2 separate regions of the Homo sapiens genome follow, and region 2 is linked to region 1. The links are contacts of gene promoters, found by promoter capture Hi-C in blood cells and fetal thymus (Javierre and others, 2016). All regions are on one chromosome and are shown on one strand. Each heading gives the region's core, a stretch centred on a gene start or on the middle of the fragment in contact. The rest is flanking DNA. Distances are from core to core; before and after follow the strand shown.

Region 1 (7,417 bases), core at 4,688-7,187:
GGTCCCCAGCTACCCCAGGACAGGGTGGGGGGTGGGAACTGCAGCTCCAGGAGTCAGGGTCTCGTGTCCAGCATGAGATGACACCGGGTGGGCCCCCAGCACACAGTCCCTTGAAGAATGGCTGCCCAGGAGGCCTCAGGCCGATGCGAGGGTCCTTAGCTTTGCTTTGCATTCCTACAGTGCTCCAGCGACAGCTCCAGGGAGGCCTGGGGAAACGGAGGCACGGGCACGGAGCCCATGGCAGGGAAGAGGGCTTGACTGTACTCTGTGCTAGGACACCCCAAGTCCCGCAGGCAGTGCTGGGGTCAGGCCCCGTGCATCCTGCCTGGACCAGGATTCAGACCCCTTTGCCTCCTTCCTGGACGTCACCTACTGCACCCAGGAGACCTCAGTGTCGGGCCATGGAAACCCCTGCTTGGGCCATACACGGCTCCCCTGCTTGTGTTCCGAGCCCCTTCACCCCCCAGCCCCTGGCCCTCAGCAACCCCCCTCCCCAGATGCGGCCTCATCTCTTCTCCAGCTTTTCTGACCCTGCCCCACTTCCTGCACCCATCTTTGCCCAGATCCCTGCAGGCATTCTGTACAGGGAGGCCTGTGCTCGCACGGTTCCTTCCACCTGGCACACCCCCATCTCTGCCGTTGACCCGGGCTCATCTTGCTGTGCGGTGAAGCCAGCCTCAGAGCCGTCCTCCTCTGTCCCCACAGCACTGTCTGCCTGCACCCTCGCCTGCTGGCCTTGGAGCAGGGCTGAGCTGCAGAGAGGCCAAGCCCCTGTTCTGTGGCTCGAGTTTGCTGGGTGAGCAGCTGCTGCTTCCCAGGACTCCTTGTGCCAATGCCCCGGGAGAGTTTTCCTCTTCCTTATAAAACCCGTGTGAAGCATTTTCCTGTTTTCCAATGTGGATGAGTTTCCTGCGGCTGCCGTGACAAATGACCACAGCTGTGCGGCTTCAAACAGCACACATTCACTGTCAATTCTGGAGGGCAGTGGTCTGAAGTCAAGGCTGGGGCAGGGCCGAACTTCTGCAGAGGGCTCCAGGGGAAGGTCCTTCCTGCCTCTTCCTGCTTCTGGGGGCTCCAGGTGTCCTTGGCTTGTGGCTGCACCACTCCCATCTCCGTCTTCTCCTCTGTGTCTCTGTGTCTTCAACTTTCTGTTTTTTTGTTTGTTTGTTTGTTTTTGTTTTTGTTTTTTTTGAGACAGAGTCTGGCTCTGTCACCCAGGCTGGAGTGCAGTGGCACGATCTCGGCTCACTGCAAGCTCCGCCTCCCAGGTTCACACCATTCTCCTGCCTCAGACTCCCGAGTAGCTGGGACTACAGGTGCCTGCCACCACGCCTGGCTAATTTTTTTATATTTTTAATAGAGACGGGGTTTCACCGTGTTAGCCAGGATGGTCTCGATCTCCTGACCTCGTGATCCGCCTGCCTTGGCCTCCCAAAGTGCTGGGATTAGAGACGCGAGCCACCGCGCCCAGCTCTGTCTGTTTTTTACAATATTTTGTAGAGATGCTGCCCAGGCTGGTCTCCAACTCCTGGGCTCAAGTGATCCTCCCACCTCGGCTTCCCAAAGTGTTGGAGATTACAGGCGTGAGCCACCTCACCCAGCCTCTTTCTCTCTCTTTTTAAAAAATTGTTGGCTGGGTGTAGTGGCTCATGCCTATAATCCCAGCACTTTGGGAGGCCGAGGCGGGTGGATCACTTGAGGTCAGGAGTTTAAGACCAGCCTGGCCAACACAGTGAAACCCCATCTCTACTAAAAATACAAAAATTAGCTGGGCTTGGTGGCACGCGCCTATAATCCCAGCTACTCAGGAGGCTGAAGCAGGAGAATCGCTTGAACCTGGGAGGCAGAGGTTGCAGTGAGCCAAGATCACGCCACTGCACTCCAGCCCGGGTGACAGAGCGAGACTCCATCTCAAAAAAAAAAATTGTCATTATTTTTTACATTGTCTTGTTCCTCCAATGAGGAACCTCTTTCTGTCTCTTACAAAGTCACTTGCATTGGATTTAGGGCCCACCCTGACTCTGACCCAGGATGACCTCATCTTGAGATCCTTACTTTAACCATATCTGCAACGACTCGGTTTCCAAATAAGGTCCCATTCTGATGGTGCAAGTAGGCACATTTTTGGGAGCCGCTATGTAACCCACCCTGGGGAAACTGAGGCAGGGCAAGGTGAAGCAGCTTCCCCAGGCCACACAGTTCTCTTTTAACCCCAAGTCGGCCTGGGTCAGAGGATGGTGATGGGGTCAAAGTTGGGGGCGGCCCCCTTTGTTCATCACTGAAAGGACAGGGGTCCCCATATCACGGCCTCTTTCTAGAATAGACTCTGACGAGGTAGCTTCAACCAGAAAGGGGTGTGCAGTCTGCCGGTGGGAGACCAGCGTGTCCCGGGTGCAGTGTGGACAGGGCGTTGGCTGAGTGAAGCCTTGGCTGGCAGGGGCCAGGTCATCAGCAGGCTGCCTCTGTGTTTCGGGGGTCCTGGCACTGGGCATGGCGCCACCCAACTTGGGGCACCCAGGAGGGGCCCTACTCATCTGGGCTTCCAGTCTCCCGGGCTGACCCAACAGACAGAGGAGGAACTGCCACTCTGGGCTTGACACATAATTGCTTTTTTTTTTTTTTTTTTTGAGACGGAGTCTCTGTCGCCCAGGCTGGAGTGCAGTGGCGCGATCTCAGCTCACTGCAAGCTCCGCCTCCCAGGTTCACGCCATTCTCCTGCCTCAGCCTCCTGAGTAGCTGGGACTACAGGCGCCCGCCACCACGCCCGGCTAATTTTTTGTATCTTTAGTAAAGATGGAGTTTCACTGTGTTAGCCAGGATGGTCTTGATCTTCTGACCTCGTGATCCGCCCGCCTCGGCCTCCCAAAGTGCTGGGATTACAGGTTGAGCCGCCGCGCCCGGCCTCGATGCATAATTTCCTTTCCGGTGGCTATTCAGGGAGGGGCGTGGGGGTTGGGGGGAGGATATTCCACAACTTCTTTGTAATAAGCAGCTTTAGGACAGAACATTCAGGCCAGGCTCGGTGGCTCACGCCTGTAATCCCAGCAATTTGGGAGGCCAAGGCGGGTGGATCACTTGAAGTCAGGAGTTCGAGACCAGCCTGGCCAACAGGGTGAAGCCCTGTCCTTCCTAAAAATACAAAAATTAGCCGGGCGAGGTGACGGGCACCTGTAATCGCAGCTACTTGGGTGGCTGAGGCAGGAGAATCGCTTGAACCCAGGAAGTGGAGTTTGCAGTGAGCCGAGATCGCGCCACTTGTACTCCAGCTCTGGGCAACAGAGTGAGACTCCGTCTCAAAAAAAAAAAAAGGCCGGGTGCGGTGGCTCATGCCTGTAATCCCAGCACTTTGGGAGGCCGTGGCAGGCGGATCACGAGGTCAGGAGATCGAGACCATCCTGGCCAACATGGTGAAACCCCATCTCTACTAAAAACACAAAAATTAGCTAGGCATGATGGCAGGCGCCTGTAGTCCCAGCTACTTAGGAGGCTGAGGCAGGAGAATGGTGTGAACCCGGGAGGTGGAGCTTGCAGTGAGCCGAGATCACGCCACTGCACTCCAGCCTGAGTGACAGAGCGAGACTCCGTCTCAAGAAAAAAAAAAAAAAAAAAAAAAGAACATTCATCTTTTCTCAGGTTCTGGGTTCTCCATCCCCAACAGAAATAACCTGGAAAATCCCTGCGGCAACACGTGTGAAGAAGTGCAGCTTTCTGAGTCACAATCTATTTGTAGGAATTTATCCCAAGGTGAGGGGGACCAGATACCTGTACAAAGATCTGTGGAAACAAGATCGTCTATCACAGTGATATATGCTAGTGAGACACCAGGAGAAACCAAAATATCCCAAAGCAGGTGACAGATCCATGACACGGAGTCCAGCGCAGACCATCAGGGTGTGGAGACGGACTTTTGGCTATTGATGAGTGTGAAGTCACGGGCCGCCTGCAGAACGCAGTATGTGACGTGAATCCCTTAAAATATGTATTTAGGCTGGGCACGGTGGCTCATACCTGTGATCTCAACATTTTGGGAGGCCGAGCTGGGAGGGTTGTTTGAGCCCAGGAGTTTGAGACCAGCTTGAGCAACATAGCGAGATCCCATCTCTACATAAAAGTTTCAAAATTAGCCAGGTGTGATGGCACGTACCTGTAGTCTCAGCTACTCAGGAGGCTGAGGGAGGAGGATTGCTGGAGTCTAGGAGGTCGAGGCTACAGTGACTCGCGTTTATACCAGTGCATTCTAGCTTGGGCAATAGAGCAAGATCCTGTCTCAAAAAAAACTTTTTAAAAATACATTTCAATGTGGAGGAGAAGGCGATCAGAAGGATGTCTGACAAGAAGGTGAGAGAGGTTACCTCTACACAGTTGGCTTATGGGGTCTTCTTTTTGTTTTTATTTTTCATAATTTTCCAAATTTTGCACACCGGACACCTAGTGTTGTGTTGTTTTTCTCTCTCTCTCTTTTTTTTTTGAAACAAAGTCTTGCTTTGTCACCCAGGCTGGAGTGCAGTGGCATAATCTCGGCTCACTGCAACCTCCGCCTCCCGGGTTCAAGTGATTCTCCTGCTTCAGCCTCCCGAGTAGCTGGGACTATAGGCACCAGCCACCACGCCCAGCTAATTTTTTTATTTTTAATAGAGACGGGGTTTGACCATACTGGCCAGGCCGGTCTTGAACTCCTGACCTTGTGATCTGTCTGCCTCAGCCTCCCAAAGTGCTGGGATTACAGGCATGAGCCACCACGCCCAGCCGTGTTATTTCTTAAGGCTTAAAAAAATTCTTTGAGGCTGGGTGTGGTGGCTCACGCCTGTACTCCCAGCACTTTGAGAGGCTGAGGCGGGTGTATCATGAGGTCAAGAGTTTGATACCAGCCTGGCCAAGAAGGTGAAACCCCATCTCTATTAAAAATACAAAAATTAGCTGGACACAATGATGGGTACCTATAATCCCCACTACTCAGGCGGCTGAGGCAGAAGAATGACTTGAACCCCGGAGGTGGAGGTTGCAGTGAGCCCAGATTGCACCATTACACTCCAGCCTGGGCGACAGAGCGAGACTCCATCTAAAAAAAAAAAAAAATTCTTTGCACTGGTGTGGGACGATGGTGACGAATCCCTCAGCCATCTGTGGGGCGCTGCTGAGGGCGTGGGGGGCATTTCTGCACGGTGAAGCAGAGCTGGTGGGAGGCTGCCCGAGGGAAGCTGGTGCTGGGAGGGTTTGCAGAGAGGAAAAGGGCAGTTTATGGAAAAGGCCTCTGGGCTCTGTCTGGAGCCGTCATGCCGGCCTTCACGGCATCCTTCCGCACTTAGAGTCCTTTCCATCTCCTGGTGGCTGGCACAGGGCCAGGGCTGCACTCACAGCTGGCCAGGGTAGGGCAGGGCGCCCGTCCTCAGGGCCACTGACTGTAGGGCTAACCTAGGGGCCTGGTTCACCCCTCTCACCTGGGGCTTCGCTGATAAGCCTGGTTCACCTCCTCACCTGGTGGCCTCGTTCACCCCCTCACCTGGCGCCTTGCCTGATAGCCTGGTTCACCCCTCTCACCTGGGGCCTCTCCTGGTGGCCTGGTTCCCCTTCCTCACCTCGTGGCGCTGGTTCACCCCTCTCACCTGGGGCCTTAACTGGTGGCCTGGTTCACCTCTTCACCTGGCGCCTTGCAGAGTAGCCGGGTTTACTCCTCTCACCTGGGGAGGCACGAACTGGCCCGGGCTGACTGACCTCCCTCACCTGTTTGGCTTTAGGCTCTGGGGCCCCCCTGCCCGGGTGTTTCTGGGAGGCTGGAGGGTCCCACGTGAGCTCCACCGCGGGCAGCTGGAGGGAGTGGGGCAGGACGCTGAGCGCCGGGAGGGGTGTGGCCCTCCTGTCCTGCCCGCGGCCCCACACCGGCCCCAGTCCCGCCCGCCTCGGTCCCTGCCCCGCGCGCCGACGTCACCGGGACCTCCCGATCCTCCCGGCCCAGGCCGAGCTGCCCACGCTGCTGCCCGGGGCTCGGTGCCCGGCGCGGCCTCTGCCGGCTCCGGCGGGCGCGGGACTGCGAGGTAGGGGGGCGCGCGGGGAAGACTCGGGGGCGCAGGGACCGAGAGGGACCTCCGTGCCGGGGCGGGTGGGTAGGGGCAGCTCCGGGTCCAGCCCGGCCCGCGCACCAAGTCCCGAGGGCGCCCGGGCGGCGGCGGCTACGGGCGCGCGGGGACCGCGGAGACGCGAAGGGCGCACTTGGCGAGGGTTTGGTGCAGCGCCGCGCCGGGGTCCGCACAGCCCCGGCAGGTCCTGCAGAGGGAAGGCCGGGCCAGGGAAGGGCCACGCGCCCCCTCCCCGCCATCCTCTCCCAGGCCAGGGCGACCTGCGCGCTTCCCGATGGGAGCAAACTGGGGACGGGTCGGGAATCCAGGGCCAAGCGCCCGAAAGAAGGCGTTTCCGGGCTGGGGCGAGCCAGGTGGGTGCGGGACGTCCCCGGGGAACCTCCAGGGCGCCGAGAATCTCGTCGTGCCCAGGGCTCCCCGCAGCCTGTGTATGAGCCGGGGAGGGAGAAGGCTTCCTCCCCCAGGAGACTGAGGGAGAAGGCTGTGGATATGATCCCTGCAGGGATGTAAGACAGGTCTCAAAACCAGAAAAGCAAGGGAGGGGTGACAGAGAAATGGCAAACTTTACAAAGGACAGGGGAGGGCAGGGACCTGGGTCCTTTCTGCCCCCATCACGGGAGGGAAACACTTGGCAGAGGAGTTTGGGGTTCGCAGGTGAGGAGAGAGAACAGGAAGCCAAGAGTCTGGCCCGGAGGCCACTACCCCTGCGGTCTAAGCCCCCGGTTTTCCCTCCTAGCGAATGGAAACTGAGAGGTGAGAAACCCCCAAAACCATCCGTCCGTCTGGTTCTGCCTGAAGGTCTCCGCTGTCAGCTAATGAATAGCTCGATGCAGCTGCTGGGAGGTTTTGCAAAGCGCATTCAGAATAGCGAGAATCAGAGCATGGTTTCTTGCCCAAAGGCCAGGCATCTGCGTGGTCAGATGGGGGAGCATGAGTGCCCGGAGCTGTGCGGTTTAGGGCAGCCTGACCTTGGATACCTGGTTACTGGGCCAGTCTGGCGGCCCTTGTTGCTTAGAGCGGCAGAACCTCCCTGGGGGGGGGATGCGGACGTGCTCTTTTCCAGTCTTTGGACAAAAAAAGGCAAGGGGAGGAGGAAGGAGAAGCGTCTGAGTTTACCCATGGTATTAATAGCAGCAGGGCTGGAACTCGGGTGCTCTGGGAGAGGAGACGTCCTACCCCCTGTCCCCGTCAGAACATCCCTGCTCCAGGAGCAGCTGGGGTTCCAGTGTGAAGCGTGGCTTTGAAACCAGGCCCCGCTGGCCCCCAGCTGTGTCGCCAGGGCCAAGTCACTTAACGTCTGAGCCTCAGTTTCCCCACCTGAAACACCGCAGTGGCACCTGCGG
Region 2 (7,417 bases), core at 2,462-4,961, 270 kb before region 1:
TTCTTTTGCAATGTGTATACAAAGAGATTGATGATAAGAAATTGGCTCACACAATTACGGAGGCTGAGAAATTCAGACCCTGGAGAGCCAATGGTATGACTCCAGTCTGAGACGGAGTCCAAAGACGAAGACCAATGTCCCAGCTCAAAGACAGGCAGGCAGAGAGAGTTGATTCTCTTACTCTACCTTTTTTTTTTTTTTTTGAGGCAGAGTCTTGCTCTGTTGGCCAGGCTAGAGTGCAGTGGCGTGATCTCAGCTCACTGCAACCTCTGCTTCCTGGGTTCAAGCAATTCTCCTGCCTCAGCCTCCTGAGTAGCTGGGTTACAGGTGTGCGCCACCATGTCTGACTTTTTTTTTTTTTTTTTTTTGTGATGGAGTCTCACAGTGTTGCCCAGGCTGGAGTACAGTGGTGTGATCTTAGCTCACTGCAACCTCCGCCTCCCAGGTTCAAACTATTCTCCTGCCTCAACCTCCCATGTAGCTGGAATTACAGGCATGTGCCACCAGGCCTGACTAATTTTTGTATTTTTAGTAGAGACAGGGTTTTACCATGTTGGCCAGGCTAGTCTCGAACTCCTGACCTCAACTGATCCGCCTGCCTTGGCCTCCCAAAGTGCTGTGATTATAGGCATGAGCCACCACACCTGGCCTTACTCCACTTTTCTGTTGTACTTGGGCCTTCAGTGGACTGGCTGAGGCCCTCTCATACTGGGAGGGCATCCGATATCTCAGTTCACCCATTTGGATGTTACTCTCCTCCAGAAACATGCTCACAGACGCAGTCAGAGTATGCTTAACCAAATATCTGGGTACCCCACGGCCCAGTCCAGTTGACACATAAAATTAGCCACGTATTACGTGACCTTTTTGTGTGATCGATGTCAGTTCTGCTGTAACAATGTGGAAAATGCGCTTCTGGGGGGCTTAATATAGATCTGGCCATGTGGCAGTGTCTTCCAGAGCAGGATGGCTGTGGTCACGTCACGGTGACACACAGCTGAACACGAGTGAGCTAAGGCCATAGCTGTCTGTGCTAGCTGCCTTTTCTTTCTCTAGTGTTTTGCCCACAGTCAGCATGAGTATTTGGACCAGTGGCCTTGCGTGGGCAGCCGGCATGGACTTGCTCCCTGGGGCTGCAGAGTCTGCCCCTGGCTTCATGCCCTGCATGTTGTGTGTGAGCAAAGAAATATTTAACAGCCCCACCCGGAGCTAAGACACAACTCTGTCAGCCTAACCACAGTGTTTGCGTTTAAACCTAACCTAATAATTTTCAGTGCCATTTATGAGGGCATCTGACACAGCCGCCGTGGAAAAGCACCTCCACCGCTACAGTTTCCTGGCGGATGATGCTTCTAGGTGAAACTTTGCTCTGTGGGTTCCCTTGCTGGAGGCAGCAGCCCACGGTTGGTGTGCCGCAGGCGGGTTATACGTCTGTTCATCTGAGATGCCTCTGCGTGCTCTGCTTCAAATCACAGGGGGCTTTTTGTTGAAACACTGGGAGATTTGCATTTGGAAATCATGTCCTATTTCTTTTTAATGAAAAATTACTTTATGGCTTCAGTGTTGCCCATGATGTGTTTTGGAAGCAGGTGGGATCATGACCGCAGTGCTCAGCCCAGCGGTTCTATCGGACCCTTCCCTGAATGCTTCTCTCCTGCCCAGAAGGTAGCAAAAGTCACGTGGGCTTCAGGCCGGAGCTGTGTCAGTCACTGGGCCAGACATTCTTGTATGTCCAAGCTGTTGTTTCTGTTGCTGTTGTTGTTGTTTTGTTTTTTGGGATGTGGTCTCACCCTGTCACCCAGGCTGGAGTACAACGGCACAATCATAGCTTACTGCAGCCTTGACCTCCTGGGTTCAAGCCATTTTCCCACTTCAGCCTCCAGAGTAACTGGGACCACAGGTGTGTGCCATCATGCCCAGCTAATTTTAAAAATTATTTGTAGACATGAGGTCTCACTGTGTGGACCAGGCTGGTCTTGAACCCCTTGGCTCAAGCAATCCCCCTGCCTTGGCTTCCCAAATTGCTGGGATCACAGGCATGAACCACCATGTCTGGCTGTCCAAACCGCCTTTTAAAATTAAAACTTGGCTGGGCGTGGTGGCTCATGCCTGTATTCCCATCACTTTGGGAGGCCGAGGCAGGTAGATCACTTGAGCCCAGGAGTTCAAGACCATCCTGGTCAACATGGTGAAACCCCATCTCTACTAAAAATACAAAAATTAGCCAGGCGTGGTGGTGCACACCTGTAACCCAGCTACTCAGGAGGCTGAGGTGGGAGGATCACTTGAGTGGGGAGGTTGCAGTGAGCCAAGATCACGCCACTGCACTCAAGTCTGAATGATAGAGTGGAACCCTGTCTCCAAAAAAAAAAAAAAAAAAAAAATGGCTGGGCATAGTGGCTTACGCCTGTAATCCCAGCACTTTGAGAGGCCAAGGCAGGTGGATTCCCTGAGGTCAGGAGTCCGAGACCAGCCTGGCCAACATGGTGAAGCCCCGTCTCTACTAAAAATACAAAAATTAGCCAGGCATGGTGGTGGGAGCCTGTAATCCCAGCTACTTAGGAGGCTGAGGCAGGAGAATCGCTTGAACCCGGGAAGCAGAGGTTGCAGTGAGCTGAGATTGTGCAACTGCACTCAAGCCTAGGCAACAAGAGCAAAACTCCGTCTCAAAAAAAAAAAAAAAAAATTACCATTGTAACCATTTTTAAGCATGCAGTTTGGTGGTGTTAAGCACGTTCACATCACTCTGCAGCAATCACCACCCTCCAGCCCCAGAACTATGTTCATCTTGTAAAACTAAAGCTCTGTCCCCATTGAACACAAACTCCCATCCCCCTCCCCTGCCCCCACAACCACCATTCTACTTTCTGTCTCTAGGAATTTAACTGCCCTGGGAACCTCATACAAGTAGAATCTTGAAATATTTGTCTTTTTTTTTTTTTTTTTTTTTTTGAGATGGAGTCTCGCTCTGTTGCCCAGGCTGGAGTGCAGTGGCACGATCTCACCTCACTGTAAGCTCTGCCTCCCGGGTTCATGCCATTCTCCTGCCTCAGCCTCCAGAGTAGCTGAGACTACAGGCGCCCGTCAGCATGCCCGGCTAATTTTTTGTATTTTTAGTAGAGACGGGGTTTCACCGTGTTAGCCAGGATGGTCTTGATCTCCTGACCTCGTGATCTGCCCGCCTCGGCTTCCCAAAGTGCTGGGATTACAGGTGTGAGCCGCCACACCGGCCAAGTATTTGTCCTTTTGTTTCTGGCTTATTTCACTGAGCATAATGTCTTCAGGGTTCATCCATGTTGTAGCATGTGTCAGAATTTCCTTTCTTTTGAAGGCTGAGTAATATTCTACTACATGGGTTGACCACAGTTTGCTTGTCTGTTCATCTGTCGCGAACACTTGGGTTCCTTCCACCTTTTGGCTATTGTGAATGATGCTGACATCAGTGTGGACATGGGTGTGCAAGCATCTCTTCAAGACCCTGCTCTAAGTTGAGTGCAGTGGCTCATGCCTGTCATCCCAGCACTTTGGGGGGCCAAGGTGGAAGGATCACTTGAGGCCAGGAATTCAAGACCACCCTGACAACATAGCAAGATGCCATCTCTACAAAAAATTAGCTGGGCATGGTGGCAACCACCTATAGTCTCAGCTACTCAGGAGGCTGCTTGAGCCCAGGAGTTCAAGGCTGCAGTGAGGTTTGATGGCACCACTGCACCCCAGCCTGGACAACACAGTGAGACCCTGTCTCAGGAAAAGAACAACAACCTTGCTTTCAGTTATTTTGGGTGTATACACAGAAGTGGAATTGCTGTATCATATGGCAATTTTATTTTATTATTATTTTTTAAGACGGAGTCTCACTGTGTCACCAAGTCTGGAATACAGTGGTACAATCTCAGCTCACTGCAACCTCTGCCTCCTGGGTTCAAGCAATTCTGCCTCAGCCTCCTTGAGTAGCTGGGATTACAGGCGTGAGTCACTGCACCTGGCCCCTCATATGGTAATTTTATATGATAATTCTGTGTTAATTTTTTTTTTTGAGACAGAGTCTCACTCTGTTCCCCAGGCTGGAGTGCAGTGGTGCCATCACAGCTCACTGCAACCTCCATCTCCTGGGCTCAAGCGATCCTCTTGCCTCAGCCTCCTGAGTAGCTGGGACTGTAAGTGCACACCACCATGTCCTGCTAATTCTTTTTTTTTTTTTTTTTTTTTTTACATTTTTTTTGTAGAGAAGGGTCTTGGTATGTTGCCCAGGCTGGGATGCAGTGGCAACATCATAGCTCACTGCAGCCTCAAACTCTTGGGCTCAAGCAATCCTCTCACCTCAGCCTCCTAAGTAGCTGAGACTACAGGCACACACTACCATGCCTGGCTAGTTTTTTAGTTTGGTTTTTTTTTTTACTTTTTTTTTTTTTTTTGAGACGGAGTCTCGCTCTGTTGCCCAGGCTAGAGTGCGGTGACGCGATCTTGGCTCACTGCAACTTCCACCTGCCAGGTTCAAATGGTCCTTCCATCTCAGCCTCTCAAGAAACTGGGATTACAAGTGTACACCACCATGCCAGGCTAATTTTTTTATTTTTAGTAGAGACAGGGTTTTGCCATGTTGGCCAGGCTGTCCTCAAACTCCTGAGCTCAAGTGATCTGCCCACCTCAGCCTCCCAAAGTGCCAGGATTACAGGCATGAGCTACTGCGCCCAGCCTTTTTAAACATTTTTTATAGAGATAGGGTCTTGCTATGTTGCCCAGGCTGGTCTTAAACTCCTGGGCAGTTCTCCCGCCTCAGCCTCCCAAAGTGCTGGGATTACAGGCATGAGCCACCATAGCTGGCCCTAAAAGATATTATTAATACTTAGTTATAATCCTAAAATATTTTCCTTGTAATTAAACTGAAATCTTATTAAATTATCCATGAAAAGTCATAGGTTTTATAAAATGATGTAGTCACTGGCATTGGTTGTATATATGTAATGCTTCTTGGCTGAAAAATAAGCAGAAGTGCTTAGGTTGGCTCAGTAACGCCCTTATCTAGTTCTTAGGTACAGAATTCGTGGACGGCGGCAGCATCCCTGGCCTCTGGCGTCTGCCTATGTCGGCGATGTGACTGACTCCCCTGCAGCTTCACTCTCCTCGTTAGTCTTCATCTTAATTGGCAACTTCCCTCTCAAGTTGTTTGTCATGTTAACTTTTCCCCTTTGCTACTTTCTTTTTCTTTCTTTTTTTTTTTTGAGAGGGAGTTTCCCTCTTGTGGCCCAGGCTGGAGTGCAGTGGCGCCATCTCGGCTCACTGCAACCTCCGCCTCCCAGGTTCAAGCGATTCTCCTGCCTCAGCCTCCCGAGTAGCTGGGATTACAGGCATGTGCCACCATGCCCGGCTTATTTTGTATTTTTAGTAGAGACAGGGTTTCTCCGTTATTGGTCAGGCTGGTCTCGAACTCCTGACCTCAGGTGATCCACCCGCCTCGGCCTCCCAAGGTTCTGGGATTACAGGCGTGAGCCACTGCGCCCTGCCTCTTTTTTTTTAGATGGAGTCTTGTTCCGTCACCAGGCTGGAGTGCAGTGGTGCGATCTCAGCTCACTGCAAACTGCGACTCCCGGGTTCAAGCGATTCTCCTGCCTCAGCCTCCCCAGTAGCTGGGACTACAGGCACACACCACCACACCCAGCTAATTTTTGTATTTTTAGTAGAGACAGGGTTTCACCGTGTTGGCCAGACTGGTCTCGATCTCTTGACTTTGTGATCCACCTGCCTCGGCTTCCCAAAGTGCTGGGATTACAGGAGAGAGCCACTGCGTGCAGCCCTGCTTTGCTGCTTTCTTAGCCTTCAGAAAACCTTTTTTTTTTTTTTTTTAGTGTGGTTTCATTCACTGTCATCTGAAGAAACTGTTGATTGTTACACATCCTCGAGAGGGGTGGTCCTGAAAACTTGAACAGCACAGGTACTTAGGATCTAGTTTTAAAAATAGGCTGCAGTGGCTCACGCCTGTCATTCCAGCACTTTGGGAGGCTGAGGCACTTGGATCACTCGAGGCCAGGAGTTAGAGACCAGCCTGGCCAACATGGAGAAAGCCCCTCTCTACTAAAAATCCAAAAATTAGCCGGGCATGGTGCGTGCCTGTGGTCCCAGCTATTTGGGAGGCTGAGGCATGAGAATCCCTTGAACCTGGGAGGTGGAGGCTGTGGTGAGCCAAGGTCACACCACTGTAGTCCCGCCTGGGTGACAGAACAAGACTCCATCTCAAAAAAAATAAAAAAAAGTAGAAAAATAGGCTGTAAAATCGTGTGGTTATAACCGTTCAGAGGGTATTGAAAGCTGGTACAGGACTGCATGTTCTCGTCCCACTCACACCCTGAACACACTGGGAGGGCAGGTGAGGAATGCGGTGGGGGCCATGGAGAGACAGCAGCGGGGGCCGTGGAGAGACAGCAGCAGGCCCTCTGATGCTCACGTTTTCGTGATTTCTGTAGTGGGGTCATTGCCTTTCTCTGGTTTGAGACACGTATTAGCTGTGCGTGATGCTGGTGCACTACAGGCCACAGGGCGGGAGGAGGTTGGAGTCCTCTGGGTGCTGGGCTTCTCTGCCTCCATCAGGCATGCTGAGCTCTGTGGGTCCAGGAAGCACTGAGTGAAGGTGGCAGTAGGCAGAGGGCATCCTTTTTTCTGAGAATCATCCCAGCTCCTTTCATGTGGAAGCCCACCACCCTCTGTACACTGAGCTTTTTACTGTGATTTACCTCATTACTCTTGCCATTGAAAAAATGAATTAAGAGGCCAGGCGTGGTGGCTCATGCCAGAAGCAGAGGCGGGTAAATCATTTGAGCCCAGGAGTTCGAGACCAGCCTGGGCAACATGGCAAGACCCTGTCTCTACCCAGAATACAAAAATTAGCTGGGCATGGTGGCACACGCCTATGGTCCCAGCTACTTGGGAAACTGAGGTGCCTGGGAGGTCGAGGCTGCAGTGAGCCGAGATTGCAGCACTGTTCTCCAGCCTGGGCAACAGCGCAAGACTGTATTTCAAAATTAATTGATTAATTAAGGCTGGGCACAATGGCTTATGCCTGTAATCCTGACACTTTGGAAGGCCATGGTGGGAGGATCACCTGATCCCAGGAGTTCAAGAGCAGCCTGGGCAACATAGGGAGATCCTGTCTCTACAGAATAATTTTAAAAATGAGCCAGGTATGGTGGTGTGCACCCATGGCCCCAGCTTTTTGGGACAACCCAGGAAGTTGAGGCTGCAGTGAGCCATGATCACACCACTTTACTCTAGTCTGGGCAACAGGGTGAGACCCTGACTCTAAAGAATATAAAGAAAGAACATGAATTAAGAATCCACAGAAGTTGCAGAGGTGGATGCAGAGTACAGCCACATTTCAGCCTCATGAACTTTGAGGTTCATTTAATGAGAATCTGTGAAGGGT

What was found. The method cuts DNA at HindIII sites, captures the fragments that hold promoters and counts their contacts. A CHiCAGO score of 5 or more calls a contact.
Region 2: a fragment that was not itself captured here is called in contact with the fragment with the promoter of AMZ1 in region 1 in 3 of 17 cell types (neutrophils, M1 macrophages and monocytes); the score reaches 8.2 in neutrophils.

The regions. Positions count from the first base shown.
Region 1 is chr7:2,682,265-2,689,681 of GRCh38, forward strand. AMZ1 (archaelysin family metallopeptidase 1) reads left to right here and starts at 5,938. Exons shown (of 7, transcript NM_001384743.1): 1 at 5,938-6,032. RefSeq lists an enhancer at 6,637-6,906. The HindIII fragment of the contact is 47,840 bases long and covers 1-7,417 here.
Region 2 is chr7:2,417,040-2,424,456 of GRCh38, forward strand. All of the region lies in intron 1 of CHST12 (carbohydrate sulfotransferase 12), which reads left to right. Among named protein-coding and RNA genes, the nearest start is that of CHST12, 17 kb to the left of the region's middle. The HindIII fragment of the contact is 7,524 bases long and covers 1-7,417 here.